Linked DNA regions of Homo sapiens: regions 2, 3, 4, 5 and 6 are each linked to region 1. Evidence: promoter capture Hi-C in 16 types of primary human blood cells and fetal thymus (Javierre and others, 2016). All regions are on one chromosome and are shown on one strand. Each heading gives the region's core, a stretch centred on a gene start or on the middle of the fragment in contact. The rest is flanking DNA. Distances are from core to core; before and after follow the strand shown.

The links. Contacts are between HindIII fragments. The CHiCAGO score rates a contact against its expected background, and 5 or more counts as called.
Region 2: a fragment that was not itself captured here is called in contact with the fragment with the promoter of PNOC in region 1 in 11 of 17 cell types (M0 macrophages, endothelial precursors, M1 macrophages and 8 more); the score reaches 10.9 in M0 macrophages.
Region 3: a contact is called between a fragment that was not itself captured here and the fragment with the promoter of PNOC in region 1, in 6 of 17 cell types (M0 macrophages, endothelial precursors, M1 macrophages and 3 more). The highest score is 7.3, in M0 macrophages.
Region 4: a fragment that was not itself captured here is called in contact with the fragment with the promoter of PNOC in region 1 in 2 of 17 cell types (M2 macrophages and M1 macrophages); the score reaches 5.5 in M2 macrophages.
Region 5: a fragment that was not itself captured here is called in contact with the fragment with the promoter of PNOC in region 1 in 1 of 17 cell types (M1 macrophages); the score reaches 5.4 in M1 macrophages.
Region 6: a fragment that was not itself captured here is called in contact with the fragment with the promoter of PNOC in region 1 in 4 of 17 cell types (erythroblasts, M1 macrophages, M2 macrophages and 1 more); the score reaches 6.7 in erythroblasts.

What each region holds. Positions count from the first base shown.
Region 1 is chr8:28,315,638-28,318,912 of GRCh38, forward strand. It overlaps PNOC (prepronociceptin), which reads left to right and starts at 1,631. Exons shown (of 4, transcript NM_006228.5): 1 at 1,631-1,679. RefSeq lists enhancers at 2,624-3,136, 3,137-3,275. The HindIII fragment of the contact is 2,214 bases long and covers 758-2,971 here.
Region 2 is chr8:28,039,423-28,042,645 of GRCh38, forward strand. It overlaps NUGGC (nuclear GTPase, germinal center associated), which reads right to left. Exons shown (of 19, transcript NM_001010906.2): 13 at 1,629-1,793. Among named protein-coding and RNA genes, the nearest start is that of NUGGC, 43 kb to the right of the region's middle. The HindIII fragment of the contact is 285 bases long and covers 1,569-1,853 here.
Region 3 is chr8:28,022,921-28,025,867 of GRCh38, forward strand. It overlaps NUGGC (nuclear GTPase, germinal center associated), which reads right to left. Exons shown (of 19, transcript NM_001010906.2): 19 at 1-542. The coding sequence ends at 397. Among named protein-coding and RNA genes, the nearest start is that of SCARA5, 32 kb to the left of the region's middle. The HindIII fragment of the contact is 1,845 bases long and covers 705-2,549 here.
Region 4 is chr8:27,913,076-27,916,100 of GRCh38, forward strand. The region is part of intron 4 of SCARA5 (scavenger receptor class A member 5); the gene reads right to left. Among named protein-coding and RNA genes, the nearest start is that of MIR4287, 28 kb to the left of the region's middle. The HindIII fragment of the contact is 4,483 bases long and covers 1-3,025 here.
Region 5 is chr8:27,943,213-27,946,270 of GRCh38, forward strand. All of the region lies in intron 3 of SCARA5 (scavenger receptor class A member 5), which reads right to left. Among named protein-coding and RNA genes, the nearest start is that of SCARA5, 48 kb to the right of the region's middle. The HindIII fragment of the contact is 2,547 bases long and covers 68-2,614 here.
Region 6 is chr8:27,875,322-27,878,370 of GRCh38, forward strand. The region is part of intron 8 of SCARA5 (scavenger receptor class A member 5); the gene reads right to left. Among named protein-coding and RNA genes, the nearest start is that of MIR4287, 9.3 kb to the right of the region's middle. RefSeq lists an enhancer at 2,303-2,804. The HindIII fragment of the contact is 1,143 bases long and covers 914-2,056 here.

The sequences.
Region 1 (3,275 bases), core at 381-2,880:
CAAAAGTGACCCCGTGTCAGTCAGTGAACATGCTGGTTTCCCAAAGAGTCCAAAATGGTAGCTGCGACCTGCAGTGTAAGGTTTGGGCAACAGAGATCTAAGTGAAGAATCATGAGTATGCTGGTCTCCTGAGCCCTTTTGCTGTGAACACAGACGGAAGGGAAATTTTATTCTCAGAACCTGTTGCTCTTAACCTGAGCAGATGTTTGCTGTCTTTTTCCTATTTTCTTTTTATGGAGATGTAATTCCCATAACATAAAATGCACCATTTTAAAGCATACAATTTGGTGGGTTTTAGTATTCTTGCTATGTTGTGCAACCATCACCTCAGTCTAAATCCAGAACATTTCCATTACCCCAAAAAGAAACCCTATACCATTTGCAGTCAGGGCAGATGCTTCCCTCAATCCTTCTCCACCCAGTCCTGGGTAGACCAGAGAGCTGGACTTAACCACATGAATGAGTGCTTGAGCTCCTTGGATGACATAGGTTCAAACCCTGGGATTCTGGAATATTTTAGACCCTCTTAGGAAAACCAAGGACAGGGTCATGGTGAAATTCACCTAAGGTAAGGAAACGTGGGGTCCACAAGGATGCTAAACCCTCAAGCCTGTGCCTTCAGCCTGTGAGCTCCTTTCCTGCAGCCCACAACCCCCGGCGGCTGTAGAAGACAAAGAGGCTCTGCAGTAAGGGACAGGGAAGCTTCCAGAGCTTCTGAGCCTCCAGGGCCCTCGGTAGTGATGCCCTAAGTTGCAGAAGCTTTAAAAGCTCTCTGTTGTGACACCAGACACTGATATGGGATTTCTACATCCAGGTGGTACTAATCAGTGTGAAAAGCGGGCTGAGAGGAGAGGGAGGATGCAGCACATTCATTAAGGGCCTCGTGTGTTGTAGATTCAAACAGAATCTCCTTTTTCTACTCACAACCATCCTGGGCAGTATTAGACTCATTTTCCGGAAGGAGGACTTGAGGTTCACAAAGAGATGTGCCTTGCTCTGACTGTACAGCCGAATTTCAGACACTTCCATCTGAGCCTCGAGTCTCAGCATTCTCCATTGCACCATGCTGTGGGCACCTGTGGAAATGCCTCCTGACCTGGCCCAGGGCAGGTGCAGCCACCTCTTGAGTGGCCTAGTTAGGGGCAATGACATTAGGTCAGGGCTTGGCTTAGCTCAGCCCTGGGCTCCTCCGAGTCGGTAGGAGCTTGGCATGAGCTCCCCTCCCTTCTGCCTGCCTCCTATTCTTCACTCCTCAGGCAAAAAGGTTGCTCAAGGAGACTCCAGGATTTGGGGTCTGCCTCGTCACTGTCACCAGGAGGCTTTTTTTCTGACTTGCCAGAGCTCCCCATCAGTCCTCACAGAGCCTCTGGAAGCACAGGGAAGGCAGCTGTGGGATCCTGGCTGAACAGAGTCCAGGTGAAGCAGGCTTGAGAATGGATTGATGGGGAGGTGGGGATGTCACAGGTCTGATGGCAGAGCCGGGGGAAGGGAACAGCCAGGAAGGCTTGCAGGTTCTGCTGTTTGGTTGCTGAAGGGGGTCAGTGTGTGTATGTGTCATGGAGGTGGGCAGGGAAGGGGAGGGCTGTGCGTGGGGGAGAGGATATATATGCTGGTGTGGCTGAGAAAGCGGAACCGAGCCTCGCATCCATCGGAGGGAGCCGGGGACTGACAGCTCTCAGGTAGGCAACTGCACGGGGCCCCCAGCCCGACCGCGACTAACTGGACTAACTGCGTGGAGCTCCGGGAGGGCAGGGCCACCAGGGGCTGGCTCCTCGGCCTCTCTCCTTTGTCCAGTGTGGATGCTGCTGGCCTCTTGCGAGATGGTTTCTTCATTCATCTCCTTTGTAGCGCTTGGATGGTGGGGAACGGGGGAGGGCTGAGTCTCTTTTTTAACCTCAGACAGACGCAGAAGCAGAAAGAGGGGAACTTGGAAATGAGGAAAAGTTTTGCTTCCCCAGCTGTGGCCCCTACGTGGTTGTTGCTCTGTGTCGAGAGGAGGCTGCTGGAGGAGTGAGGCCAGAGGAGGGGCAGGCACTTGGGAGGGGGTTTGCCTTCCACGGGGCGGCCCCCAGGAAGACCCTGGCCCCCTCATGAGGGTTTCCTCTCAGTGGCTTCCTTTCCTCTCAGATGCGGTGCGCAGGCTGCTTCTCCGCCTATCACTGAACTTGATGCCATCCAGATGGGAGTTTTTAATCCGGAGGGAGCCCTTCTCCCTTCTGCCCCCAGCAGAAATTGCTACAAATAATGGGGAAGCGCCAGATCTGGGGAGTGTGCTTCACCTGTATACACACACTGCTGAGCGCCACGGCGTGTGAATTCCAGAGAGCATTTCTACGGGCGTGACCTTGGTCTCCCAGAACCCGATTCATTTAGAGGGCTCTTCTCTTGCTTGGCATCCCTCTCCCCCTGCCCATCTCCCCCACCTAAAGGTCTTTGCCCAGGTCATGCAGAATACTCCGTTCATAGTCACCGCATCCCAACTCTCGAGGCTCTCTCAGCCACCTTCTTTCTTCCTCCTCTCTTTGTGCATCTCTCTCCCTCGAGTCTTGCTTCCCCGGCTTCACTACCCAGCCCCTCCTCCCCGAATCTCGCTCTGAACATGGGCAAGTTCTGGGGGAATTTCAAGTAAGGCAGGATGATTCGGGAAATGGACTATTTAAAGCAAGCTGCTTTGGACTTGAATACCCCCATCCTGCGCTTAAACATCTGTGTTTAGCTTCCTCAAGCAGCCCATAATTGCCCCAATTATAACCAATAACATTGTTCGGCAGACTAACAAAAGATGAGCTTTGCACGGCATTCGCCAGCAAGCCCAAACCAGAGTTTTCAACATAGATGGGAAAAGTAACTGCCTGGCTTCTTATCAAAACCTCCCAAAGCAAATACTGCTCTTTTTCGCTGCTTGTGGGTGGCTACTGCATGCAGCCTCTTTTTTTCTCATTTGTAAAGTGTGGCAGGGAAATATTCTACAAGCTTACACTGAGGCTATGTTACCTTTAACAAAAAGGATTCGTGCTCCTTTGGGCTTGCTGAGTCTTCTGCAGAGGAGGGTCCCTGGAAAACCCATCCCCAACCATCACCACCTCTGTAAAAGCATGTGCCGCCTGGTGCTGCCTGGCGAGGGCGCTGTGGTACAGCCTCGGGTCATTTTGAGGGCGCAGTTTTGTTGCGCACAGGGCAGCAGCCCCTGCTTTATCAGCTGAAGGCTGAGAGTACTTACGGATTTGTAAAATGCAGGCGAGTTTGCATTGTCAGTGAAGGGAGTGATTGCAGGA
Region 2 (3,223 bases), core at 461-2,960, 280 kb before region 1:
GGTTTCACCATGTTGGCCAGGCTGGTCTCAAACTCCTGACCTCAGGTGATCCATCCACCTCAGCCTCCCAAAGTGCTGGGAATACAGGCACAAGCCACCACACTCAGGCTCATCTAGACATTTAAACAAGCTTTTACACAAAGCACACAGATAACAACACCCAGAAGAGGCCAGGTGCTAGAAAGCCGGTATCATCGGTGCACATAGAAAAGCCTCCAGGAAGCCAACCACCCCATCACACTCACCTTTTCACACATTTTCCACTGCTCACATTCCAACTTTCCAAGGCCCACTAAAAACTACAACCACAGACCATCCATGCACTTCTCCCAGCACGGGGGGACACCAAGTCATACAGTGTTGTCCATCACATCTTCCCCTTAATGGGTGCTATGGACTAAAGTGTGACCCTTGAGGTTCACATGCGAAGCCCTAACCACCAGGGTGACTGTGTTTGGAGACACAGCTGGTAAGGAGGTAATTAAGGTTAAATGGGGTCATAAGGGTGGGGCCCTGATCTGACAGGTGTGGTGTCCTTCTGGGAAGAGAAAGAGATCCCAGGAGTGTGCGTGCTCAGTGAAGAGGCCACGTGAGGATGCAGCAAAAATGTGGCCATCTACCTTCTCCAGAAGAGGAGAGAGGCCTCAGAACTCACCCTGCTGACACCTTGATCTTGGACTTTCAGCCTTCAGAACTATGGGAAAATCGATGTCTGTGGTTCAGGCCACCCAGTCTATAGGATTTTGTTATGGCAGCCCAAGCAGACTAATACAATAGGCCTCTTTTTTCACCCCTTAGTCTTAGATAAATACTGCCTTACACTTACATTTTCATCCTTCAGAAACTCTATACAACTAATTAAGAAATAAAACCACAACTTGTATGCCAATTGAGAGGTTACAAGATGTTTCCTCATTGTGTAAGCTCATTGATACTGATATCAACACTACCAGATAGGTAGGGCAAGCATTGAGCATCCTCATTTTATAGTAGAAAACCAATAAATTTTTAAAAAATGGGTCTAGGGCTTTGCCCGGGGCTACAAGGTGGATGTTTGGTGGAGCTGGTACTCCAACCAAGACCCTCAGATCCCAGATTCCCACTCTGTCTTTGCTGAACTGTGTACCTTCCTTGGTCCTTTCAAGACACAGATGAACAACTGTTATGTGCAATTTTCACTCTCTCCTAACCTCCTCTGGCTCTTTTTTTTTGTTTTTTGTTTTTTGTTCTTGTTTTTTTTTTTGAGATGGAGTCTCACTCTCTCGCCAGGCTGGAGTGCAGTAGTGCAGTCTCGGCTCACTGCAATCTCCGCCTCCCTGGTTCAAGCAATTCTCCTGCCTCAGCCTCCTGAGCAGCTGGGATGACAGGCACACGCCACCACACCTGGCTAATTTTTGTATTTTTAGTAGAGACGGGGTTTCACCATGTTGGCCAGGATGGTCTTGATCTCCTGACCTTGTGATCCGCCCACCTCGGCCTCCCAAAGTGCTGGGATTACAGGCATGAGCCGCCATGCCCGGCCCGCTAACTCTTTACCTCTTTTGAAGGGAATGGGATGATGCAAAAGAAGCTTGGGGATCGGGCAGGCCTCCTGGAATATCTGAGTTTTCCCTGGAAGGGTCACTCACCACCAAGCATGCTCTGAGGATGCAGCGGTAAGAAGTCCTGGCGGTCCTGACCCCTTCTTGCAGAGGCTGCTCCATGCAGGCGAAGCACTGTGCGATGGCCTTCTCCAGCAGCTCAACCTTCTCTTCCGCAAATCTCCGCAGGACACTCATGTGCAAGTGTTCATTCTAGGGACAAGGACCATAAAAGAATCAGGCCACCCCCTCCCTAAGGGCACCTTCTCCTGAAGCTTTGCTTTCTTTAAGCTTGTCACCAGCTCAAGATTCAGCTTATCACTCAGAGCTGACTTCTCTTTATTGTCCCCATAAGACCTCACTCAGTGCACAGACCCCTTTAGGCTTTGTGGGGTTAGAGAATAGAACAAATACCTGCCTGGTGCAACTTATTTCATTTCTTAAAAATCACAGTCTCTGCTTATTCAGCAACTTATTTCAGCTGTGTAATCCATCAGGTTATTTGGGGAAGTAGCTATCCACATAGAAATCCAATTGTTATTAAAACAGATTTTTCCAATGACATCTGATTCAACAAACATTTCACGGGCTTGGACTCTGCACGAAGGAGTTTTTAAGGATAATGCTTCTTAAATTTTAACATGCATACAAATCAACAGGAGATCTTAAAATCTGAAATCCAAGGTCCTGGGATTCTGCATTTCTAGCCAGTCCTCAAGTAATGCTGGTCTTCCGAGCTATGGACCACACTTTGCATAGCAAAGCTACAGGACCACAAAAATAAATCCATGCTTCCTTCTTCAAAGAATACAGTCTAATCAGGGAGAAAACATATATTCAAATAATACAAGGAAGTGACCACCAGAGAAAGCCTTGACCCCTAGGTGCCTGATATGGTTTGCTGTGTACCCACCCAAATATCATTTTGAATTGTAGCTCCCATAATTCCACGTGTTGTGGGGGGGACCTGGTGGGAGATAATTGAATCATGGGATTGGCTTTCCCCATACTGTTCTCATGGTAGTGAATGAGTCTCATGAGATCTGATGGTTTTATAAGGAGAAACCTTATAAAACCTTATAAAACATGCCACCATGTAAGACATGCCTTTTGCCCACAATGATTGTGAGGCCTCCCCAGGCACATGGAACTGTGAGTCCATTAAACCTCATTTTCTCTATAAATTACCCAGTCTCGGGTATGTCTTTATCAGCAGCATGAAAATGGACTAATACAGTTCCAGACTGGGAACTCATAGTGTTGTTCCCCACATGGGAACCTTGGTGGGCCCCACAGTGCCTGCAGCAGTCAGAGCCACACTCCCCAGCTTGGCCTTTAAGGCACCTCATAGCCAGAACTCACTCCACCTCTCTAGCACCACCATCTCTGTTTGCCTGACACATCCTGCCAAGTAGCTACCCCTGGACTTGCTGCTATTCCCCAAACATGCTGTCAATCTTGTGCCCTCTGGGCCTTGCTGATTTCATCTTTGTTACTTCGGAGACAAAGCTCAAAGGTCCTTCCCATGAGGCACCTTCCCTGAGTCCCCAGGTAGAGGTGGGGCTCTCTGTCCTGTGCTCCCACTGCACTTCCCACAGTCCTGCACCACAGCACGTCTCCTGCCTCCTGCCGTATGACATCTC
Region 3 (2,947 bases), core at 377-2,876, 290 kb before region 1:
ATTAACCGGGTGTGGTGGCAGTCGCCTATAATCCCAGCTACTTGGGAGGCTGAGGCAGAGAATTTCTTGAACCCAGGAGGTGGAGGTTGCAGTGAGCCGAGATTGCACCACTGCATTCCAGCCTGGGTGACACAGCGAGACTCTGTCTCAAAAAAAAAAAAAAAAAAATTACCCAGGTGTGGTGGCCTGTACCTGTAGCCCCAGCTGCTCTGGAGGCTGAGGCTGGAGGATCGCTTGAGCCTAGGAGTTCGAGGCTGCAGTGAGCTGTGATGGTGCCACTGCACTCCAGCCTGGGCAACAGAGGTAGATAGATCTTGTCTCTTAAGAACAAAAAAAGTAATTCTAATTCTCTGGCTCTGGGCTGATTTTTCATCCATTGGGACTAAGCCCCAGGAGTTACAGTGATGTCCCGGGGGGGCCAGCCTTGCTGGGGGATGCCCTTAGGAGGAATTCTTGCATGCCCTTCCTCAGCCGTGCATTCTCCGCGACCTCCCTCAGGCTTCTGTGCAGCTTCTCCATCTCCTTGTATTCACTCCCGACATCTACAGGAGAGCAGAAAGCTCACATCAGGACTTGGTGTCCGTTGCAGAAACGTCTCCAGAAAGCAAATCCCCCAACAATCCTGTCACTTGTCCCAGAATATGAGATCTGGAGTGGTGCTTACAGATCAGACATCAAAGCAGGTGTTCCTCCTCTTACCAGAAAGCTTTCTCAGCATGGGGTCACCCTCAAAAGAAACCCAAACCTACCCATAAGAAAAACCCTGAGAAGTCACTGGGTCTGTATTAAGGCTTCACAGGTGTGTGATATACAAAGCATGTTGCACAATAACACCTCCTCTAATTCCTCTCCAGGCGGCTCCCCCTCTTCCCCCCACCCCAATCCCTATCCTCCCAGCACAACCCATTCTCAGTGAATGTTCTCTTTCTGGCATCTCAGGTTTTAATCCCATGATCTGTAATCAAACCATGTTCTCACAATGGTTAGTTTTATGTGTCAACTTGTTTAGGTCACAGGGCCCAGAAACCGGATTAAACGTGAGTCTGGATGCCTCTGGGAGGGTGTTTTTGGATGAGATTCACATTTAACAGGGATGCTCCAGTGACAGCCTTGGGCCTTTGACATGGAGTTTTGCTCTTGTCACCAAGTCTGCAGTACAATGGCATGATCTTGACTCACTGCAACCTCTGCCTCCCAGGCTCAAGTGCTTCTGCCTCAGACACCCAACTAGCTGGGATTACAGGCACCCACCACCTCGCCTAGCTAAATTCTTTCTTTTTTTTTTTTTTTTTTTTTGTATTTTTAGTAGAGACAGGGTTTCACCACGTTGGCCAGGCTGGTCTCGAACTCTTGACCTCAGTTGATACACCCGCCTCGGCCTCCCAAAGTGTTGGGATTACAGGCATGAGCCACCGTGCCCGGCCAAGCCTTGGTTGGGCCTTTGTCTGCAACATCGACTCTGCCTGGTTCTGCAGGGATGGCCTCTGGACTCGAACTGCCTCTCTTTCTGGAGTCTCTGTCCTGTGGGCCTCCCTGCATCAGATTTTGGGCTCACCAAGCCTCCACCATCGTGTGGGCCAACTTCTTAAAATAAATCTCTTCCTCTATCTATCCACACATCCTACTGGTTCTGTTTATCTGGAGGACGCTGACTAATTGCAGTCCCCTTTGAAGGGACACTTCAGACTGAGCCCTGAATGCCTTTCTAATCCCCCTTGGCTTTCTGTGCCCGAGGGTGACTCAGGTTAGTTGGCCCTGAGCCTGGCCAGGGATGGGACTCATGAGCAGAGGGGAGTTAGGACCCGGAGTCTTTTTGTTCTGTCCCATATCTGGAAGGCCTCCCTTCTCCCCACTGCCTCTGAAATCAACCTAACCTTTGAGGCTTCCCCCAGGACCCAGCTTCAGTGACGCTTCCCCGCGTCCCAGCCCTGAATAACCACTCTGTCTCTGAACTTCAAGAATAACGATCTGAAGTCTGAGTGGGTTCCCTCCCTCAGGGCTTTGCTTAAGTGTCACATTCCCAGGGAGACCTTCCTTTACCACCCTGTCCCACCACCCTGTCCCGTACCTCAGCATCCCTTCTTCCCTTTCTGTGTTTCGCTTCCCTGCCACATATTTCACTTATTAGTTTGCTGACTGCCTGCCTTCCACCCACTGGGCTGTGAGCTCCATGAAGGTGGGGACTCTTGCCTGTATTGGCCACCACTGTGTCCTCAGCACCCAGAACACTGCCTGGCACCCAGGACGTGATCAGAATCGCTTGCTGAGTGAATGTAAACTCCCCAGTCTTACAACGCACATTCTTACACATCTTGTCTTACCAACCAGGTAAGGCCCTGACAACAGGGACTGCCTTTTAGATTTCTTTATAAAGTATGACCCCCTGACATGATGTATATTTGCTGTCGATGGTGAAGAGAAGGAAATAGGCTTAAATTATAGCAGTTGCACTTGACATCAAACTGAGGGGAGCACCATCTGTCAAGTGCACCTGCTATAATTCTTGAAGTTCAGAGACAGAGTGGTTATTCAGGGCTGGGATGCGGGGAAGCTTCACTGAAGCTGGTCAAGATCTCTGGCAAGCGGGAGTTCTTTAAAGCAGGCACATTGGAATGACTATCATCTTAAAACTTAGATTCCTATAAAGGCCTGGACAGAAGGTCATGAGAGTCCAGTACATTATAGTGTGAGGGTGTTGTATCTCCTTCCCTGGAGTCCGTTAGATCAGGTTAGAGGTCCATCTAACCAGCCATAAATGGGTCATAAAGATTCCCAGAGAGATGGAGAAGTGCAGAACGGATTGTTAGAAGCAGCCATTGTGGCTTTGACTTTGGGAACAGCTCTGTCTACTTTCACCCTGGCAAACTCAAATGGCATCAGATCTGTTCATTGCAGCAGGCAACTATGGATGTGGTATAAAATATAAAAGGCACAAAATATACAGGGT
Region 4 (3,025 bases), core at 31-2,530, 400 kb before region 1:
CTTCCGGGTATTCCAAGCGCACCTGAAATCACCCTGTGGAGTTTGGCTGGGTCATCCAAGGAGAGGCAGGGCTCAAGAACATGCTACAGATGGATTTTGTTTTAAACATAACTATGTGGTTATGAAGGTCTTTACTGGAGATTAACTGGGAAGAAGGTGGGGTGGGCAGTAAAGGTGGGCACCAATTCCCAAGCCTTCATCACATCCTCAGGTGGTACAGGCCTGGCTGACTCAGAAGGGCTGATGATTTGGCCAGAGCCTCGAGGGGCCGAGCTGCCAGGGGCTCCGAGGACCAAGTGATCTTTAAATCACTGATGCTGCCTGTAGGTGAAGCAATCTCAGGATTTGACTTTTTAGTGTGTTTACTGACACTATCCTTTCTTCAGAAACCCAAGCTGGAAATCTTGAGCCTGCTCTGATTCTTCTTTCCTGTCCCCCTTTTGCATCCCTTTCCAGCTACATGCATCTGTGATTCGAGGCTTCTCATAAAGGAAGGTCCTTCTCATGTCTCCACCTCCTTCCTCACTGCCTCCACCCTCGTCAGGTCCTTATGGCCTGGCTCTGGCCTTTATAAGAACCTCCCTGTCTCCGTCTCTCTCCAGCCCATGTGTGCCTTGCTGTCTGATCCATCTCTCTGAAACAACAAAGCAACCAAAGGGACTCAGAGCACGGGAAGGCCCCTCACTGCACCACAGGTGCAGCTTCCCCTGTCAAGGCCCCTGCAGATCACTCACGATCTGACCCCTTCTGCTGCAAACTTACAGCTCGGTGCTCATGGTCACCAACTTTCCTCCACCTCTGCACAAACGCTCTCCTCATAGTGTCCCTGAACATTAGCCAAATCCTAAGAGTCCAGTCCCTCTTAGTCCTGAGACTGCCTTCATGCCCACTGATTTGGTTTGGCTGTGTCCCCACCCAAATCTCATCTTGAACTGTAGCTCCCATAATTCCCATGTGTTGTGGGAGGGACTCAGTGGGAGGTAACTGAATCATGGGGGTGGGTCTTTCCCTTGCTGTTCTCGTGATAGTGAATAAGTCTCATGAGGTCTGATGGTTTTATAAAGGGGAGTTCTGCACACACTCTCTTGCCTGCTGCCATGTAAGATGTGCCTTTGCTCCTCCTTCACCTCCTGCCATGATTGTGAGGCCTCCTCAGCCATGTGGACTGTGAGTCCATTAAACCTCTTTTTCTTTATAAATTACCCAATCTCAGGTATGTCTTTATTAGCAGTGTGAGAACAGACGAATACACCCACCCTTCTGGTCTCTTAGTGTACCATGGGCAGAGCCCCCAAATCTCAGAGCTAGAAGGAGGTGGGGAGATCCTCGTGCACAATGCCCCTGTGGGAGCACCCGGAGCCTGGTCAGGTGACCTCTGCCCACTCCCTGGGCACTATCCCCCACCTCGAACTGTGGTTCCCAAGGAGGACAGAACCTTCTGTAGGGCACTGTCTGTGGCCTGTGCCTTGCACACACCCAGCAAACAATCAGGATCTGAAGAATGACTAACGTGTAGTAGCAGAAGTGCCATGACATCTGTTGTTCCAAGAGGTACCCAGGTTAGCTTTTTCACTTCTCAACTTTCTACACCATCTCATTTCTCATCTTTTCTGTCACCAAGGCAGGCCAGGGCATGGAGGTGGCTGGGACAAGGAGGAGCAGGGTCCTGGGGTCCCTGCTCAGGCTTTGTCCACTCATCTAGCCCACTCCCCTCATGCTCCCCTCAGTGCAGTTGCTCCCACCAGAAGCATCTTCCCAGTGGGACGAAGGGTCTGGGACCAGGCATTCAGGAGAAGCACCGGGGTTTTCCTGGGGATCAGCCAATGAGGGGAAACCCATGCCTTCTCCCTTCCCTGATCCCAGAACACATGACGGGGTAGGGGACCTGTGTGGGCTGGAATCCAGGAACTGATGTGCCAAGAGCAAATTATGAGGACAGCTGATGAGCCTGGCCTGGAGCCAGCAGTACAGTCAAAACCACCCCCAGAACCATGCTAACCACAGGCCGGCTGACAGGGTAGAGTGGCTCAGCAAACAGCTCCACTTCCAGTACCCTCAAGTCACCAGGGCCTGGATTCTGAGCCCCTATCACCTTTACAATTGTGAGGTCTCTTTTTTTCATCATTTAAGGCATCTCTCTGTGACCCTGAGAAGTGGACAAGGCAGGCACTGTCAGCCCCATTTCACAGCCGAGGAGACTCAGGCCCAGAAAGGTGCTGGGACTGCCCTTGCTACCGTCCTCCGAGCCCCCAATGGAGGGTGGTGGGCGGGGCTGGGGGCAACTCCACCCACTTCCCAGCAGAGTCCGTGTGGAAGGAGATATGAGAGCTTGGCTCACCATACAACGTCCCAGGGACCTCAGCCCAGGCCATGCTCCTCAGCCCTCAGTAGAACAGAAAGGCCACTTTACCTGTCACTCCACTCAGAGATGTTCCCCACTTTCAGCAGGTCCCTACTACCCAGAAACCAGAGTCCCAGCATTAGCCTGGAATCCAAAGCCCCACTCTGTGACGTCATCCCTTTATAAATATTTGCTGAACTGGACTCTCTAATAGATTGTGTTTTTTCTCACGAAATCAGCCCACAGACAAATCTGCTTTGCGAACTTGTTTTCATGAATCCAGAGATGTATTTTTTTTGTCCCAGCCAGGTCACTGGATGGTTTTGTGACTTCAGCCAATCATCTCCCCTCTCTGGCCTCAGGATCCTCAACTACAAAACAAAAAGAGTGGACTGGATGATTTCAGATGTATTGCCACTCCATCCAAATGCTGTGATTCCAGAAAACCTGCATCCTTGCCAAAGAGAGCCATCTGAATGTGACTTTGTTCAGGTTTCCCCTTCTGGGCTGCCTCCCCTCTCTGGTTACCTTTCCCCTCCTGGGCTGCCTCCCCTCTCTGGTTACCTTTCCCCTCCTGGGCTCCTTCTCCTCTGTGATGATCTAAGTTCTCTGCTTCTTTCAAACCCACAGGCAGATTTCAACAGACCTGATTAATGCTAAAAATCCAAAACAGAAAATAGAACC
Region 5 (3,058 bases), core at 91-2,590, 370 kb before region 1:
GGATCCCCTTTCCTTAAGGTTTCCTTTGCCAACATGGCAAAACCCTGTCTCTACTAAAAATACAAAAAGCTTGTGTTTTTACAAACCAGGCATGGTGGTGTGAGCCTGTAGTCCTAGCTATTCCGGAGGCTGAGGTGGGAGGATCACCTGAGCCTGGGAAATGGAGGCTGCAGTGAGCACTGCACTCCAGCCTGGGTGACGGGAGTGAGACTCTGACTAAAAATAATTATAAAGTCCCTTTATTGCCAAAGTCATTCTTTCCTGAATGTGTTTTAGCTTAAATGCATCCAGCGGTATGCTGATAAATGTTTAACAACTGGTTCTCCAAGGGGTTGGGGAGAAGCCTAAGCTGTGGTGCTTGCCAATGTTTGAGGTGTAAATATCCCACTATGACCGACTTCAAGCTACCAACATGACATCATTGACTACGGAGTTAGGAAAAGACGCACGTAATCAGAGCTGACCAGCACACCACTGTCTGCAGCCACCTTACATTGCAGCGGTCAGAGAGGAAAACAGCAATGAAGAGGGTTAGAAAAGCCACATTTGATGACCACCTTTGTAATAACTGACTCGGGCAAGAATTGTAAGTGGATGCTAAAATCATGGAGTGAAGGATTGCTGGCAATCAGTGTATTTACACAGCCTCAGAGTGTCTCCCCACAGATCACTTCTTAATCAGAGGGAATAAAAGATAGCTTTACAGTAGATTATTCTGACCAAATTTACCTTAACCAAATTTACCATTACCAGTACAGGAACAAATTGACACAATCCACCTCCTCAAATGACTTAGAAAGTGTTACTGCCAAGAAGGTTTAACCTACGTCAATCATGGGAAAACAATTAAACAAACCCAAGTTAAAGGACAGGATAGCAAGCAACTGGCCTGCATTCTTTAAAATGTCCATGTCATGAAATACAGTGAAAGGCAAGGAACCCATCTAGAAAAGACTATGGAGCCATGAAAACCACATGTATATTCTGGATTGGATCCTGCATCAGGAGTTTTAAAAATGGTTATAAAGGACATTCTTGGAGCAACGGAAGAAAATTAAATATGGATATACTGTATTTATAATCAGCATTAGATTTCTTGAATTCAGTAATTGTATAGTGGTGATATAAGACAATGTCCTTGTTCTTGTAAATACACACTAACATATTTAGGGGTGAAGTTTGCAACTCACTGTCAAATGGTTCCACAAAAATTAAAAATGGTAATAACAAACGTGGGGCGAGAAGAGAGAGCAGGTACACGCAAATGGCATAAAATGTTAACAATATTAAAATGAAGGGTATATAGCACTCTTTATAGCTTCCAACTTCTCTGTAGGTTTAACATTTTTTAAAAAATAAAAAATTAAGACCAGGCATGGTGGCTCATGCCTGTAATCCTAGCACTTTGGGAGGCCAAGGTGGATGGATCACCTGAGGTCAGGAGTTTGAGACCAGCCTGGCCAACATGGTGAAACTCCATTTTGTAAAAATAGAAAAAAAAAAAAAAAGTAGCTGGGCATGGTGGCAGTTGCCTGCAATCCCAGATACTTGGGAGGCTGAGGTGGGAGAATCATTTGAACCTGGGAGGCAGAGGTTGCAGTGAGCCGAGATCACGCCACTGCACTCGTCTGGGCGACAGAGCGAGAGCCTGTCTCAAAAAAAAATAATTGAGGTCAGGCGCTGTGACTCATGCTTGTAATCCCAGTACTCTGGGAAACTGAGGCAGGTGGATGACTTGAACCCAGGAGCTCAAGACCAGCCTGGGCAACATGGCAAAACCATCTCTACTAAAAATACAAAAAATTAGCCAGGTGTGGTGGTATAGGCCTGTAGTGCCAGCTACTCAGGAGGCTGAGGTAGGAGGATCATCTGAGTTCAGGAAGAAGAGGCTGCAGTGAGCTGTGATTGTGCCCACTGCACTCCAGCCTGGGTGATGGGAATGAGACTGTAAAAAAATAATAATAAATTGAAAAAAAAAAAAGGAAACACTGAGGAGTTGTCTAACCTGCATGGAGCCAAATAATACTGGTGCCTCCCTTATTCTCTATGAACGTAACTTTGATCACGATAGCTTTTGGTGGCAGGCATGTCACACACTGACTCATAGACTGCATCCTGCCAAACTCAAACCCTCAACCTTGCTTTAAAAACTGATGTCAAGCCGTGGCTTCCCCATTTGTGGGGCACTACTTCATGTGTGTCCATATTAATTGACCAGGTCTAAGCTATCTCTCTGGGTTTCAGCCTTATTTTGGGTTCTGATTCCGCATTCCTTTAAATTGAGTGCTGATCTCTGTGAACCACAAAGACAACAAACATGTCATCCGGGATTTAACTACATAAAGATTTATGAAGCATACAGGTTGTGCAAAGCAGCAGGTTGGGTACAAAGAAATCAACAACAAGTAAATAAGATGTGAGTGTCAATCATAGCCTTCTGGAAGATAAGAACCAGGTCTTATACTTCCTTGGTCCCCCTATAGCACCCCATGGTAGTGAGTATGTATTAGACACTTTATAAATGCCTGATTTGACCTCACATAGTAACCAGGCAAAAGGCTTAAACAGCCAGTCTCCTTAAGAGATGACACAATGAATAATCAAATGTATGGAAAGCTTGATGAGATTATTAGCTATCAAAGAAATGCAAATTTTAAAAAAGGAAATCTCTAAAAGTAATGGAACAGTGCTACATCATGCTGGCAAGACCGTGGTGAACGCTAGTGTGTTTAAACATTGCTGATGACTGTGCAAATATTTTTGGAAGGCAATTTGGCAAAAAGTATCAATAGCCATAAAAATGTTCACATCCTTTGCAAAATAGTCTCTCTCCTGGGAATTTAAGAAGTAACCCAAAAGAAGGGAAATGCTACAGCAGTGAGAAATTTATCACTCTCTTATTTGTAGCAGTGAAAACCTAGAGAAGTCGTGGATGAGCAATTAGGAACAATTAAATCATGGTACATTAACCAGATGAACTTTAATGAAGCTCTAAAAATGACAACCATGAAGTCTGCCATGTAACAATGTGGGACATGCATACGCTATCACAGGAAGC
Region 6 (3,049 bases), core at 235-2,734, 440 kb before region 1:
GAACTACAAAGGTGAAGCCCTCAAGATGTTTCCATGTATCGCAGGGATCAGGAGAGTATAAGAAGTGCTGTGATAGAGAAGAATGTGACGGGATCATAGAGGAGGGTTATTTCCATCTTAGGGGTGAGGGAGCATGGAAGGAGCCAGAAAAGCTTCCCTCAGGAAAGATCATTGAGCTGCCTTTAAAAGCTGAGTAGGAATTCCCTAGCTGAAGAGGGAGGGAAAAGCCTTCCAGCAGGAGGAGCAGCACAGGAGAAGAGGTGGGACATGAAACACACCATCTGTGCCCCGAGAACCACCAGCAGGTGCAGTGTGGAGAGGTGTGGGGTGGGCAGGAGGCCAACTAAGAAGATCCTTGGGTGCTGAGCTAAGGAAATCCAGCTTGATTCTGAGAGCGATAAAAATCCTCTGAGGACCCAGGCAGGGAGTGAGGTGACCAGGCACTCGTTTTAGAAAGATCCCTAACAGTTTGAGACCAGCCTGGGCAACATAGCAAGACCCTATTTCTCCAAAATAATAAAATGAAATAATTAGCTTGGCATAGTAGCATGTGCCTGTGGTCCCAGCTACTCAGGAGGCTGAGGCAGGAGGATTGCTTGAGCCTGGGAGGTCGAGGCTGCAGCAAGCTATGATTGCACCACTGCACTCCATGGGTGACAGAGGGAGACCTCATCTCTTAAAAAGAGAAAAAAAGAAAGATCCCCAGCAGCCATGAGAAGGAAGGCCACAGGAGCTAGCCTGCAGGTGTGGTGGCCGTGAGGAGTGACTCCTGGAGGATTAGAGCCTCTACTGTCCCCACCTCCACCCCACACTTGTAGATAAGCGTGCACAACAGAGCCTGTGCATGCTAACTGCTTGACACCCAAGATCTCCTTTAGCATTTATAGTAATTCTTCAATAGCGGAAGAACTGAAGCTTAGAGAGGGTAGGGAATCTAGTCAAGGTCTCCAGCTGCAAGTGGCAGATCCGGGATTCTGACATGGGTGGTTTGACTCCAGGGCTGGGGCACTAACCACTGCTCTACCTGCTAATCTCCTAAGGGGAGGACAGCAAGAACGACGAGGTGGGGACAGGTTCAAGGAATGCCAGAGGAGTGAACACTGGTGGGATCTGCAGGACTCGGGGACCAACCTGATGTGGGGAGGGGGAGTGGTGACAGGGAAGAGGTGGCCCAGGGTTCTGGCTGGGATGGGGTCTGACTGGTAGGACGGTTCTGGTGATGGCAATGAGAGAGGCACAGGATCTGGTGGGAAGGATATGTGTGCAATTGTGACAGCTGCCATTGGAGAAGCCCATGGGGCATCCGAGTGCACCTGTCAGGAAGGTCACCGGACACTTGGGTCTGGAGCTCCACTGAGCACTGTGACAGAGGGAAGAGCTGGGGGTGACTGAAGCCCCAGGTGTGGAGGCAGCCTCCAGAGAGAGTGTGCAGAACACAAGGACAGCAGAGGCGGGGTGTTGGGGGTGCTAGGGAGAGGAAACTGTCAGGAAGGAAGAGGGTGAGAAGAAGGCTAGGAGGCAGAGCGAGAGGGACCTGGGAGGCTCCTTCAGGCTCAACAGCAGACGAGCTGGGAGTGGGGTTGGGGCACCAGTGGGTAGGATGCTGGCAGGGTGGCTCTGCCTGCCGCCAGGAATGACAGCTTTCCCTCCTCTCGGCCCCATGACTACAACAGCATTAAAACCCTTGGCACATGGTTTAGAATCCTCCTCTACATTGCCCATGCTGTGGCCAGGGCTGGGCTTGGTCAGCTCTGCCCCCCAGCCCTGCAGCTAGCCTGGCCCATGCTAGGTGCCTGGAAACTGCTTGTAGAGAGGAGGAGAACATGGGTGCAGCCTGGGCTGGCAGAAAGCCTCAGTTATGCCAGCCCTTCCCTGCCCAGGCCCCTACAGCCCTCTGTATACTGCTAGTGACACCTGGCCTGCAACCAGCCAAGGTCTTGAATAGCACCTGAGACCTGTTAGGGCACCATGATAGGGAAATAATGGGGCAAAAAAATAGGGCATTCGTGAAAGCAAGTCCAGCTTCCTATCGACCAGTTTAAAGAATCAAGTGACAAGCTTAGAGCTTCCCTGTGTCAAGAGGAACAGATCAGGGGAGTGAAAGAAGCCACAGTCTACAGGATCGCTGGCCTGGCACTCGAAGCCCACCCACTGCCTTTTCACCAACTGGCAGAGTCAGGCTAACATGACCTGTGATCTTCAAACTACCTATTCTGGCTTCTTGAAAATAATTTATAATTTTTTTTCTCAAAAGGTTTTACTGCCACTTATTAGGAAGAAGCCTTCTTCGGAGCTAGAAATGGGAATTTGAGGACTGTTCCTATTCTAATCAACAACAACGGTGGTTTTCCTTAGTCAAAACCAGCTGGAATCCAGCCCCAAGCCTTAGGTGGGAGAACAGTATTCTTTCCTGGTAGGCTGCCCTTCATGGTGCCGGATCCCTTCGAACTCGCCCCTCAAACTCTGGCCCTTAAGACGGCACTCCCTGCCAGCTGGCTCGACAGATTTCACCAAGGGTCACTTTCAGTCAATTACCAATGAGATCTATGGGATGAGATTCAGACCAAGAACTGCAGCAGCCCCTTATGGGGATGAAGAGGAAGGCGGCTGGGAGGAGTGGAGGCTTCCACCTCCAGTCTGGATGTGACCTGGCTCCGAGTCCCCATCTGGAAGGGACATGCCACTTTCTCCCCTCACCCTGTAGCCATTTAGCACAGTGGGTTGGACAGCAATGACCTCAGGCAAGACAGCAGGTACGCCCGGCTCCACTCCATGATGTGGGGAACCCTGCCGTCAGTGGGCTGCCATCCACAGGTCACCAGGGGGCCTGGTAACTGGGTGTGAGAGGATCAGCCCCAATCCCTCCCCACACCCACCTGGTCTTCTCCACAGGTGAGCAGTGGCATCTTAAATCCCAGGGGGCCCAGGCTGGGAGACCCATTATGCAGCCTGCAGGCCCTTTAGTTACAGACAGGACACCAAGACCCAGAATGCAGAAGCAACAGGGCCAGGACATGCCATCAAGGGAAAGCTCACTACTGAATGGGTG